Regions from separate parts of the Homo sapiens genome. Here regions 1, 3, 4 and 5 are each linked to region 2. Evidence: promoter capture Hi-C in 16 types of primary human blood cells and fetal thymus (Javierre and others, 2016). All regions are on one chromosome and are shown on one strand. Each heading gives the region's core, a stretch centred on a gene start or on the middle of the fragment in contact. The rest is flanking DNA. Distances are from core to core; before and after follow the strand shown. Region 1 overlaps CENPW (centromere protein W). Region 2 holds the start of RSPO3 (R-spondin 3). Region 3 has its middle 150 kb from the start of TRMT11. Region 4 has its middle 170 kb from the start of TRMT11. Region 5 has its middle 31 kb from the start of CENPW.

What was found. The method cuts DNA at HindIII sites, captures the fragments that hold promoters and counts their contacts. A CHiCAGO score of 5 or more calls a contact.
Region 1: a fragment that was not itself captured here is called in contact with the fragment with the promoter of RSPO3 in region 2 in 4 of 17 cell types (M0 macrophages, M2 macrophages, M1 macrophages and 1 more); the score reaches 8.1 in M0 macrophages.
Region 3: a fragment that was not itself captured here is called in contact with the fragment with the promoter of RSPO3 in region 2 in 1 of 17 cell types (M2 macrophages); the score reaches 5.6 in M2 macrophages.
Region 4: a contact is called between a fragment that was not itself captured here and the fragment with the promoter of RSPO3 in region 2, in 1 of 17 cell types (M2 macrophages). The highest score is 6.8, in M2 macrophages.
Region 5: a contact is called between a fragment that was not itself captured here and the fragment with the promoter of RSPO3 in region 2, in 3 of 17 cell types (endothelial precursors, monocytes and M2 macrophages). The highest score is 8.0, in endothelial precursors.

Annotation. Positions count from the first base shown.
Region 1 is chr6:126,346,835-126,349,534 of GRCh38, reverse strand. It overlaps CENPW (centromere protein W), which reads right to left. Exons shown (of 3, transcript NM_001012507.4): 3 at 660-1,069. The coding sequence ends at 1,043. Among named protein-coding and RNA genes, the nearest start is that of CENPW, 8.1 kb to the right of the region's middle. The HindIII fragment of the contact is 7,567 bases long and covers 1-2,700 here.
Region 2 is chr6:127,117,381-127,120,080 of GRCh38, reverse strand. RSPO3 (R-spondin 3) reads right to left here and starts at 1,410. Exons shown (of 5, transcript NM_032784.5): 1 at 792-1,410. The coding sequence starts at 888. LOC105377989 (a long non-coding RNA gene) reads left to right here. Exons shown (of 14, transcript XR_002956387.2): 4 at 1-1,180. The HindIII fragment of the contact is 5,242 bases long and covers 1-2,700 here.
Region 3 is chr6:126,139,050-126,141,749 of GRCh38, reverse strand. It overlaps a transcript of TRMT11 not described here. Among named protein-coding and RNA genes, the nearest start is that of TRMT11, 150 kb to the right of the region's middle. The HindIII fragment of the contact is 6,644 bases long and covers 1-2,700 here.
Region 4 is chr6:126,156,903-126,159,602 of GRCh38, reverse strand. It overlaps a transcript of TRMT11 not described here. Among named protein-coding and RNA genes, the nearest start is that of TRMT11, 170 kb to the right of the region's middle. The HindIII fragment of the contact is 539 bases long and covers 984-1,522 here.
Region 5 is chr6:126,369,314-126,372,013 of GRCh38, reverse strand. It overlaps a transcript of CENPW not described here. Among named protein-coding and RNA genes, the nearest start is that of CENPW, 31 kb to the right of the region's middle. The HindIII fragment of the contact is 4,920 bases long and covers 1-2,700 here.

The DNA of each region.
Region 1 (2,700 bases), core at 120-2,619, 770 kb after region 2:
TGACATTCTCAAAATCACAAAAGTATAGACTTTAGACGGAGAATAGTTCATGGTTGCCAGGGTTTAGGAATGGTGCTAGGGTAGGACACATTTTAAACAAGGTCTAATTGTAAAAGGATAGCACAAAGAGACTTTTTTGGTAATGAAACATTTCTAATTACAGTAATGGTTAAACAAATCTACACCATAAAATGGCAACAGAACTACATGTACACTGTACCTATATGAAATTCCTGGTTTTGATATTATACTATAGTTATGTAAGATGTAACCATTGGGGGAACTGGGTGTACTGTACATGGGACTTCTCTGTACTATCTTTGCAACTACATGTTGAAATCTATAATTATTTCTAAATAAAAAGTTAAAAGTAACAACTATTTGATGATACATAATAAACTTCTAAATTATCTTATTTAGGGGGAAAAATTATCTATTAAATCCATGAGACTTGAAGAAAATAAGTCATTTGCTCCAAATTTCTATTATTTTGGTTTTGGGAGGGAGATAGGTTTTGAAAAACCTACCTGATGTTTATAATTGTCCAGCTGAGAAATTATAACATTACTACTGGCATAATATAAAAGTAGATTGCATTGCTTTGCAAAGACATTAAAAGTTAAAATATTGAAAGTGCACCTAGATTTGACTGCATTTGCCTTTCTTCAGAGATTAAATTCCATAGTTAACTGTGGCTAAATCTAAATATATATAAACTTAATTCTAAGAAGTACATTTTCAAAGTATTTAATATAGTAAGATTTCATTTTTGATACATAAAATATTTGCAGCAGCAACAAAACAAAAGCAAACTGAACTAGAGGACATTTAAAATAAAAATAATAGTAATTCCCATAAAAGGGTTAAATAGTCCTATGCATTTACTTGAGATATTTCATGCCAGAAAAAAAATACAAACACACACATCACTTATAGCCAATATTTAATAATCCCATATTAACTGATGTGTAAAAAATGTCTTTATGATCTGTTACCACCCAAAAGAATGCATCATAACTTTCAAGAATATGTTCTTTGACTTCTAACCTCTGCTCTTCTTTAGAATTACCTGTAAGAGGGAAAAAAATAAGATTCATATTATATCTATGAAAAATAAAACATCATTCCTTAACAAAAAGTTAAATAGTCCTGGGTGCATAATATGCAAGACTGAATTTATAAAACCCAATTTTCCAAATTGGAAATCACCTTCCAGGTGATTAGGGAATCTTTTGTCTTATAGTCTTAGATTTCTCTAAAAACAGTCTTATCTCAATGAATATGAAACATGCCTAGATTCTAAAAACCTGCCTTTATTAGTTACCTCTAGATGTTAATTTCTTCTATTGTAAACCAAAAGTGTCCAGATTAATGGTTTCGAATTTGAAATTTTTAGACAATTTAGTTATCTAAATTAGGAGTTAAACAATACCAATTAAAGAGTTAAACAATATTCTTGAGTCTATATTAGACTCAAAAAGTCTATTATAAATCAGACATTTCACAACTATAAACTAGGACAAATCCACTGCAACATTAAATTTCTTATAGTTGGACTGGAATTATAATCATTTGAGACTAAAACTAGTCATCTTATGCTGAACAACCTGTTAAGTAGATTATTTTCAAAATAATAGTCTGTGGCACAAATAAAAAAAGGAGATTTTTAGTTGTAAAAAGACTGACGGTATTAGTCAGAATATCTCTTTTTTTAAAAAAAAACTTATCTACTATTTTAAGTAAATAAACCTACAGTTTATTAATAAAAATCCTAAATGTAAAAAACACGTGTATATTCTTCAATATCTTAAGCCTTGTTTTTCCCACAGAAAAATATTTACATTGACTTTAATAGTGTAGAAATTTGTTGGAATGTTTATAATTGCAAGATAATTTAAAGGCCCTAGAAAATGCCAAGACATGCACATTTCTAGGCTTCCACAAGACCATCAAATAAATCTGTATCTAGACTAGTACTTCTCTGTCCTACAAGATAATTATCATGGGTACTTCAAAAGAAAGTTTGAATACTCAAATGAATTTACAAAACGCTGAGTATATTATGTACTCAAACTTACAAAATACTAAATGGAGTTCAACAAGTTTCCTTATTGCTATATTTCTCTCATAGCCTTTCATAACTTTACATGACTATAGTTATTTAAGACATTAGGATTATGAGAAACTGGATACAGGGTACATGGGAACTCTAAACTATCTTTTGTACCTTATTTCAAAATAAATCTAAAACAAAAACGTCTACAAAGAGGTAGACTGTCAAAAATAAGTTTCCCTCCTCTATCATCCCCAGTCAACTGTGGTTGCCAGTTTCTTACATATTCTTACAGAAACAAGTTCTACAATAATACTGTGACTAATCAAGGAAGTATAGTATGCAAGGTTATCTACACTTATTTGACAACAGAAGCATCTGAGGTAGGGCCTTGATTAACATCATTTGGAAATAACATTTTCAGGAACATATCTGGAAAACTGCACCGTAGGCAACATATTCTTAACATTATATAAAAATAACAGTAAAAAGCAATCATCTCTACTTATAAGAGATTTTTTTTTCCTTTTTTTGAGACGGAGTTTCGCACTTGTTGCCCAGGCTAGAGTGCAATGGTGCGATCTTGGCACACTGCAACCTCTGCCAAAACAAAGTTAAAAGAAATCAAATAATTGGTGATATGGTTT
Region 2 (2,700 bases), core at 161-2,660:
CTTTAGGGAGACCCCACTCTCTGTACGTGTGTGTCCCAGGGGACACACTTGAAAGGGCCAGAGATGGTACAGACGCTCACATGTGACAAGAGAGAACCTGGAAACTCCGCACCTCCGGCTCCCCACAGCTGGGGTTTTGCTGTCTTCAACCCTCGGGCGGGGGACGTCCGGCAGCTCTGCAAACGCGCAGACACGCGAACCCCATCGCCTCGCGCGCCCTTTGGCTCCGCTGGTGCGTGTCGGGGATGCGGCCGCGCAGGCGCTCGCTCCCTGGCTTCCTGGCCGGGTAGCGGGCGTTCGGCTACCGGAGTCCAGCCTAAGGGCCCAGCCGAGGTCTCCCCGCGCGAGGCGGTTGCGCTAGGTGAGCGGGTACCGCGGCCGCGCCTCCCTTGTCATTTACTCAGCGGTCAGAGGCATCCTGCGTCTGGGAGTCCCAAGTGCCTTCGGCTGGGTGCCCCTGTCCGATCCTCAAAAGGAAAGCACAAATCCCGGGTGCGAGTCTAACCCAGGACCGAACTTTCCCGCGAACCTGAAGTTACCATGGGGCGGGAGCCACCTTAGCGCCGCGTCCGCCCGCCCCTCGCACCGGCTAGGATGCTGCGGAAGGCAGGGGCGCCGAGAGGCAAGGGTGAAAGACGCCGTCCATACCCCCAAAGCCCGAACCTGCATCTCCTCTGCGAGGCGCAGGGCGGGAGGACCGCTGCAGTTGGGAGCCGGCTCCGGACAGGCAAAGCGACCCGACAGGTGAACGCGGCGGGAGGGAGCAAACGCGTAAAAAACCCTGCACTTACTTCTTCGCTGGCGCCTTCCCCGGGAGGCGTTTTGGCTGCCGATGTATTCCATAAAGTTCAAAATGATAAAAAGCCAAGAAATCAGTCGCAAGTGCATAGTAACCCAGTAATGCTTCCCTTCCTTTCTCCTCTTTCTTTTGATTGTTAATTATATTTAATGTTTTTAAAATATATGTAGGTGTTAGGCGTATATAGACAGTGCCCGAGCAGCGGGACTTCTCCTCTCACATCCGATAGGCGTGCTGTGATGGCAAGCGAAGTGGGGCGGGTGGACAGGGAAACCAACTATTGTACTTTCAAATTATCCAAGCACTGAACTGCGGCGGCTTCGCTGGGGTGGCTGGCATCGCCGCGAACCGGGGTTCCAGGAGCCGCCGGGGCGGCCGCAGGTAGCATGTTGTGCGGCAACTGCCGCAGGCGGGATCCGGGCGGGCGAGCGGCGGCGGCGGCGGCTGCAGCGGCGGCCCCTTGGGCTCAGAAGCTGCGGCGGCTGCGGCTGCAGCGGCGGGGGCCCCTGGAGCGCAGGGGAGCGGGCGCCGTCGGCACAGCGGCCATGGCCAAGGGGCGGCGGAGAGACCCCGAGCTGCTTCTGGCGTGCGCGAGCAGGAGACGCTCCAGTGTTGGGCTGGGCTCCCGGGAGCACCACATAGGGGAGGAGGAGGAGGAGGGCAGGGAGGGGGGAGGGAGAGGAGGGCAGGGAGGGGGAGAGGAGGGGGGATGGCTGTGGGGGGCGGGGGGGAGCTCGGGGGCGGGGAAGGAAACTGCTGGAGCAACAACCCTGAGCGACCTCAATAACTTTCAATTTCAAGAGGGAAAGAGGGAGCTGGAAAAGTACAGGCGTTGCGCTTTGGCAGAGGGACGGGAAGAGGCGCCTAAGGGGTCCCGGGTCTACAGCGCAGCATCTCTGGACACTGCAGTGACGGCCGGAGAATTCCAGCCAGAAGAATGGGGAAAGCAGTGCGTGCGAAGAGCCCCTCCAGAAGGGCAGCTCTGGCGGGGAGACTTGGGCGCACTGGGGCTGGCAGGCAGTGTTGAGGCCGAAGACCCCCCACCCATCCCAGTTCGGCTCCTCTCCGCGGCCTCAAGCTAGGCGCACCCGGCTGTCGGTGGCCGTGCGCCCCTGCGCCCTTGTGCCCCAGCGCCCCCACCCCATCCCCAGCGCCGGCGCGCAACTACCCTCTCCCCCTTGGCAGATCGCTGGAGAGTTTCTGGCTGCTGACTTGTTCCCGGCTTTCCTGACCTTCTCCTCTGTTGCCTTTCTCCCTTTTTCTTTTTCTCTCTCTTTCTTTCTTTCTTTCTTTCTTTCTTTCTTTCTTTCTTTCTTTCTTTCTTTCTTTCTTTCTTTCTTTCTTTCTCTTTCTTTCTTTTCTTTCTTTCTTCCTTCCTCTTTCTTTGTCTTTCTTTCTTTCTTTCCTTCCTTCCTTCCTTCCTTCCTTCCTTCCTTCCTTCCTTCTTCTTTCTTTCTTTCTTTCCTTTCTTTCTTTCTTTTCGGCTGCAGTTGGTCGCCAGGCGGGTGGTGGGGAGGAAACTCTGTGGGTGCTGCCGGTCAGCTACTCTGAGGTTTACCTGCTCCGAGCGGGGAGGACCCAGAAGTGTGTGCGCTCAGGACCTTCCCGTTGGAAATGCAGCTGTGCTACGGCTTTCTTCCAAACCAAGGCTTTTCTGTGGCTTTGGAAGATTCCTTTCCCGCTCAGGCAATTCCCTCTATAGTCAGCTCGCCCCCCTTGGAGTTTTCTCTCCCACCCTCGGTCTCCCAGTGTTCTTGAGAGGATCTGTTGTACATTCTAATCTCGCATCTGGAAGACTGGGAATAAGATTTGGAAAGATTTTCCCAGTCTTGGGGAAGGAAGGGGAAGGTCCACTACTTTCTTATCTTCCCAGCCCAAGTGGAGGCCCAAGGCAGCAGAGA
Region 3 (2,700 bases), core at 24-2,523, 980 kb after region 2:
ATAAAGGCCAGAACTGAGCAAATGTTGCTAAAGAGAAGTTGTTCAGCTGATACTGAATATACACCATATATAATCTCCTTTTCCAAAATAACGGATTTAAGTTGGTTAACTGTGTCCCAAACTTAACAGAATATATAGTTCAGGTTCTTGACCTCATCTCCTGACCATTCTTCTCACATCACCTTCACTGGCCTGCCAGGCTTGGTGGACTTGGAGTAGATAAATTTATCTTTCTGTCAATTTTAATTTTTGCAACAGCAGTACAACCTATATATTCATGCTTGAATGATATATTCAAATTTGCTACTTTCCTACAATTACAGTAAGACAACAAAATCATTCTCACTGATTTAACATGTGTGTGAAAACACAAATACTTTTGACTATTTAACTTATTTGACTGATTACATTGATTAAAGCTGTAACTAGCTACATGCAATCACTTAATTATTTGTTCATTTTATTTTTAGTTAAGCTGACAGGTCTACTTGTTTGATAACCAAAATTAGACAAAATAGTCCATTTATGCTTTATCCTGCTAATTAATTAAGATGATTAGAAATAGTCCAAGCCCCAGATTCAATTATAATTACTTACACATAGAGGAAAACTCTCTTATTCAAATTCACAGTTTGCTAAGTACGTTTTCTCTAAAGCAAAGGGCATATATTAATACAAACTTATCCCTATAACTTAACACACACAAATGTTGTATGAAGACCAGTAGAGTCATTATGTACTTTAATATAACTACCCTCATGAGATAGCTATTTGTTATTTTCTATTTCACTGGTGAGGAAACATGGAGTTTAAGAAAATTCGAAGCATTTTTTAATTCTATGATTCCTGAATTCTGGAATCGAAGGTGTCATTATGAAAATACATTGTCACTTGATTTTTTTAAAAGCAAAATTTCCCATAATTATTTGATTGCAAAATAACTAACTTCACTGAGAGACCACAAAAACTAAAGCAGCATATAGTACAAATACTCTGTAGGTTGTTTTGTTGGTGGAAAGCTAAAATTAACTTGTCAAGTAGAACAATTTCTCTGCCCCTGGCAAGTGAGAAAGCAATAATGAATCTTCCATTTTAAGGTGGAAATTTTAGCATACCTATATGAACACTTAGCTAAAATGGTCAAATTTCTAGAAAAATCATCAAAATCAGCTCAAAGAATTTTTAAAACACGCACATCAGTAACCACTGAATACATTAAGCTAACAGAAAAGACTATACTTGAAATGGCACCCAACTCAAGATTTTGCTTGTGAATTTTATCACATCCTTAAAAAACACATAATTCTTGTGTTATATAAACTTTTCAAAGTAAAGACAAAGATAAGAAATTATCTGATCCATTTTACCAAGCAAATATAGCACTAATACCAAAACAAGAGAAAGCACAAGAAAGGAAATCATGGACAAATAACTTTTATAAATGAAGATATATACACCTTGAATTACATATTAGCAAATCAGATACAGGGATTTTTTTTTAATTACACATCAGGACCAAATAGGGCTTATCCCAGGAATACAAGGATGGTTCAATACTAGAGAACCTACCAATTCTCCATATTAAAAGACAAAAGACAAAAAATAAGTAATGTAAAGGTATTGACTAAAATTTAATACCTCATTTTTAATCTTCTGAAATTAGAAATAGAAGAAAACCCTTTTAATAAATGTCACTAGTGGAAATATGTAATAAGTACCATACTTAATGGATAAAATATTAGAAGTAATTTCTTAAAGTAAGGAATAATGCAAAATACTATCATTATCTATCCAGCACTTCTGCACCATCCTTGTCTATCCAAGACAATAACAAATCAGATATAAGAATCAGAATAAAAACAGACAAAATTATCATTATTTGCAAATGATATAATAATTACCAAAAAAACCTCTAAGAAATTAACTTGTGAATTGTTAGAGTTCACATTAGAAAGTTTAGCAAGGTAGCCAAATAGAAGTTACAAAATAACCACATACATTAAAATACTATTTACATTTTAAAACACACACATCAAAAAAAACTATATAGATAGTATGTGGCCATAAATATTTGTTACATAGGCTGGGCATGATGGCTCACACCTGTAATCCCAGCACTTTGGGAGAGTGAGGTGGGTGGATCATTTGAGGTCAAGAGTTCAAGACCAGATTGGCCAACATGGTGAAACCCCATCTCTACTAAAAATACAAAAATTAGCCAGGTGTGGTAGCAGGCGCCTGTAATCCCAGCTACTTGGGAGGCTGAGGCAGGAGAATTGCTTGAACCCAGGAGGCAGAGATTGCAGTGAGCCAAGATCACACCACTGCACTCCCACCTGGGCAATAGAGCAAGACTCAGTCTTGAAAAAATATTTATATATATTTGTTACATAAATAAAAATAAAATCTTCTGAAAAGATATACATCAAATTAAATGCTGTTGCTACTTCTCAAAAAAGGATCAAGATTCATGGTAATGATCAAAGGAGATTGTAGCCATACCTATAATATTTTTATTTTATAGTCTGGATATATGTATTAGTTTTACTATTTAAATTTAATAAAATTTAAAATATGCAAAAAATAGTTTCAGCTACTTCTATATTTATTTGGATAACTTCATATTATTTCTTAAAATTAGAATTATTACTTAATCCAGGAATTGAACCAGGAAAATAAAAGGGCACATCAAATGCAGGT
Region 4 (2,700 bases), core at 4-2,503, 960 kb after region 2:
ATGAAATACAATAGAAACTTATTTGTCCGTATTATAATAGTGGAAGATGGCTGTTCCTGGTTGACAAGCAGCTTTCCTCTATGTAGTGATCAGTGGCCAAGTTCTTTCTGTCTTGTGGCTCTGCTATCCTCTAGGGAAGGTACCAGCAAAATATAGCTCAGAGATTCTTTTTGTAAATAAAGTTTTATGGGAACAAAACCATACATATTTGTTTACGCATTGTCTATGGCTAGTTTTGCACAATAACAGCTGAACTGAGTACCATAGTCATGACAGAGACCATATGACACTAAAGCCTAAGGTATTTGCAGACCTCCGCCCAGAGTGCCATCACCATTTGGATCTAGCCAGCACAAAGGGGAAAGAAAGTTTGGAGGGGACAAACCAGCTATCCACAAAGTGGCACATATCACTTGCAAATATCTAGCATTGTCTAGAAATTAGTTACACGGTCACATCACATTGCAAGAGAGGTTGAGAAGTGTATTACAGGTGTCCCAAGAGGAGGAGAAAACAGACATTTAGAAGAAAAATTAGCACACTCTGCCCTTTGGCATCAGTGGGAAATGTCACCCACATCTGCACAGTAGCAGTAGCAACTGCAAGGGGCCACCTAAGTAATGTTTCACAGAGCCCAGAGGCTTTAAAGAAGACATCACCAAAGGAAGTCAGAGCTGGATGGGCAACGAGGGAAGTGACAGAAAGATGCCACGTGGTAGCTGAGAATACCATTTCAAGAGCATCCAAAAGACACCATCTAGAACTTCCCACAGTAACTGGTGAGAGAGAGAGGCCTTTGTAGGAGGGAGAAGTTCCACAAAAGCAGGTGGGAGATAGAGCCACAGAAATTGCTTTTTTCCCTAAAATTTGGCTCGACATTGCCCCAAGCTTGAAGTGGCCTTTGCAACCTGGTTTATACCAAATGCAATAAGTAAAAGGCATTTAGAATGTAAAAAATAAATACAGTACAATTTGGGGAAGCTTGTCTCCTATTTGCCTGACATTTTTTGAATCTTTCATATACCATAAGGATCCAGAGCATGAAAGTAGCACTAAAGAACCTATTATATAATAGATTTAGACACTAAACATCAACAATTGTTGGCCTCATAAAAAGAAATAGACATGAGCTTCCTCCTATAGTCTTCCCAAACACTCCTTCTAGTATTGCCAAAGATATTGAACTTGAATCTGATCCAGTGTCTGGATCCAGCTGCTAATTTGCAGAAAATACAAAAGGACAAAGGAACATACCAAACTATACCATGAGCATGCATTCAGCAAAGTCCAGACCATGGGAAACTTTACAGGTCAAACAGTCCAGGTGTTCGACAGAAAAAGCACAGGGAAAAGATTGAGGTAGAGAGAAGAACCATAGACTGAAGGTTTCAAAAGACTGATCAAATTTTAAATAATGGAAAAGACTAAATTACAATGTGTAGGAGTGGACTTATATAAATGTTCAAACTAAACATACACACACATACAAGGAAGTGATTATCAAAAATAATAGTAATAAGCTTATTACTATTATTCTGTTATATAGCATAATTATTACATATGGCAGAAGGGAGGGGATTATGATTGGAATAGAGGATATAGAGGGGCTTATGAGTGGCTGACAAAGTTCTATTTGATCTAGTGTTGGTTACAAAGGCTTTTGCCTTAAAATTTACTAAGCAATTCATTAACATGTACACAAATTCATGGGAGAGCATTCTGTATCTGCATTTTATTTTACAATTTAAAAATGTAAAGACTAAATTATAAAAGAGAGAAAAAATAGCTGAATAACAGCAAGGTAAAGAAAACTAGAGTAACTCTCTTTTGAACAAACTATACAGTCATTAATAGAAATCCAAATGTAAATTTAATTCCTTTTCATCAGACCCATCTAAAAAATCCCAACAGTCAATTGGTGGCTTACAGATGATGCTGATGTACTGGATGATTAATCTTTTTGTGATATTAAGCCAATGTCATTTCATCACAGGTAAACTTCAAATTGTAACTTTCCTATAGTTCTCCTTATCTTCCCTGCACCCTCTTAATCCAGCGGGGTTCATTGACTCAGGAAAAGAGCAACACACAGCCAAGAGCAGCAGTCATCAATCAGTTTACAGCTTTATAATATGAAATTTTACATCCATAGCAAGGCTATTCCCTGAATGCAAAGGCTTTTGGTTTAGCAGGAGCCAGGCTTTCTTGAGGAGGAAAAGGGTTCTATTGAAATTCTCCAAAGCTAAGTATTTGTATATAAAAGCCAAACTTGAAGGACTCAGATCAATAATTACATGCTTCCCAGAGTAGAAAAGAAAGACAATAATCTATTGTCAATTCTAGAAGATAAGAACTGAAATGAAAAGCCATTTCTATGCTGGCAGAAAGAAGAAGAGGAAGTGTGGACGAGGTATCAGAGGTGGGCAGCCCACTTCCTGCCTCCCTACCCAGAGGTCAAACCTCAGGGACAGAGAGCAGTCTATGGACAGGAGAAGCAGTGATGTAGGTTTGGGGGCATCTGAGGGACCATTGTTGATCCTCTGCTTTCCTGGGCAGAGACTGGCCCTATCAAAAACCTTTCAGAGAAACTCTGCATTTGGAATGGTACAACCTCACAATGGCAGCAGGAGTGGACCCAGCTGAAGAGGCAGATTCCACCGCTGAGGAAGATGCCTGTGTATGAGTGATATAGTTTGGATG
Region 5 (2,700 bases), core at 54-2,553, 750 kb after region 2:
AAAATGATAGACCACTGTGAGATTAACCAAGAAAAGAAGAGAGACAATCCAAATAAGCTCAATTAGAAATGAAATAAGATTTATTACAACCGATACCACAGGAAAAAGAAAAAAGAAAAAGATTGTTCAAGGCTACTATGAACATCTTTACGCACATAACTAGAAAACCTAGAGGAGATAAGAAATTCTTGGAAATATACAACGCTTGTAGATTAAACCAGGAAGAAATAGAAACGCTGAACGGACCAATAACAGGTAGTGAGATTAAAATACAAATTTTAAAAATACCAACAAAAAAAGCCCAGGACCAGATGGATTCACAGCTGAATTCTATCAGACATTCAAAGAAGAATTGGTACCAATTCTATTGACATTATGCTACAAGATAAAGAGGGAATCCTCCCTAAATCATTCTATGAAGCCAGTATCACCCTAATATCAAAACCAGGAAAGGACATAACAAAGAAAACTATAGACTAATATCCTTGATGAATACAGATATAAAAATCCTTAACAAAATATTAGCTAATCGAATCCAACAGCATATTAAAAAGGTAATCCACCATGATCAACTGGGTTTCATATCAGGGATGCAGGGACAGTTTAGCATATGCAATTCAATAAATGTGATGCAACACATAAACAGAATTAAAAACAAAAACCATATTATTATATCAATAGACGCAGAAAAAAAATTTGACAAAATCCAGCATCCCTTTATGATTAAAACCCTCAGTAAAATCACCATAGAAGGGACCTACCTTAAGATCATAAAAGCTATCTATGACAAACCCACAGCCAGCATAATACTGAACAGGAAAAAGTTGAAGCATGTCCCCTGAGAAGTGGAACAAGACAAGGACACCCATTCTTGCCACTTCTTTTCAATATAGTACTGGAAGTCCTAGCTAGAGCAATCAGACAAGAGGAAGAAATAAACTGCATCCTGCCAGGCACGGTGGCTCACGCCTATAATCCCAGCACTTTGGGAGGCAGGGCGGGTGGATTACCTGAGGTCAGGAGTTCGAGACCAGCCTGGCCAACATGGTGAAACCCCAGCTCTACTAAAAAAACACACACACACACACAAAAAATTAGCCAGGCGTGGTGGTGGGCACCTGTAATCCCAGTTACTCAAGAGGCTGAGGCAGGAGAATCACTTGAACCTGGGAGGCGGAGGTTGTAGTGAGCCGAGATCACGCCACTGCACTCCAGCCTGGGTGACAGAGCAAGACTCCATCTCAAGAAAAAAAAAAAAAGAAATAAACTGCATCCAAATCAGTTAAGAGCAAGTGAAACTGTCGTTTGCTGATGATATGATCGTATACCTAGAAAACTCTAAAGACTCTCCCAAAAAGCTCCTAGAACTGCTCAATGAAATCAGAGAAGTTTCAGGATACACAATTAATGTACACAAATCAGTAGCTCTGCTACACACCAACATGACAAAGCTGAGAATAAAATAAAAAACTCAACCCCTTTTACAAAAGCTGCAAAAGTAAAAAATAAAATACTTAGGAATATACCTAACCAAGAAGGTGAAAGACCTCTACAAGGAAAACTACAAAATGCTGATGAAAGAAATCACAAATGACACACATGGAAACACATTCCATGCTCATGGATGGGTAGAATCAACACTGTGAAAATGACAAATTCATTGAATCTACAAATTCAATACAATTCTCATCAAAATAGCACCATCATTCTTCACAGAACTAGAAAAAAAAATACTAAAATTCATATGAAACCAAAAAAATCCCACGCAGCCAAAGCAAAACTAAGCAAAAAGAACAAATCTGAAGGCATCACATTACCTAACTTCAAACTATACTATAAGGCCATTGTTGCCAACATATCATGGTACTGGTATAAATAGGCACATAGACCAATGGAACAGAATAGAGAACCCAGAAATAAAGCCAAATACTTACAACCAACTGATCTTTGACACAGCAAACAAAAACATAAAGTGGGGAAAGGACACCCTATTCAACAAATGATGCTGGAATAATTGGCAAGCCACAGGTAGAATGAAACTGGATCCTCATCTCTCACGTTATACAAAAATCAACTCAAGATGGATCACAGATTTAAATCAAAGACCAGAAACCATAAAAATTCTAGAAGATAACATTGGAAAAACCCTTCTTGACATTGGCTTAGGCAAATACTTCATGACAAAGAACCCAAAAGCAAATGCAAATGCAACAAAGATAAATAGATAGGACTTTAACTAAAAAACTTCTGCACAGCAAAAGAAACAATGAGCAGAGTAAACAGACAACACACAAAGTGGGAGAAAATCTTTGCAATCTATAACTCTGACAAAGAACTAATATCCAGAATCTACAAAGAACTCAAAAACATCAGCAAGAAAAAAACCAAACAATCCCAACAAAAAGTGGGCTAAGGACATGAATAGATAGTTCTCAAAAGATATACAAATGGCCAACAAACATATGAAACAATGCTCAACATCACTAATGATCAGGGAAATGCAAATCAAAACCACAATGTGATTCCACCTTACTCCTGTAAGAATGGCCATAATCAACAACTTTAAAAAAATGTATGTTGGCAAGGATGTTGTGAAAAGGGGACACTTTTCCACAGCTAGTGGGAATGTAAATTAGTACAACCACTATGGAAAAGTGTGGAGATTCCTTTAAAAATGAAAAGTAGAACTACCATTTGATC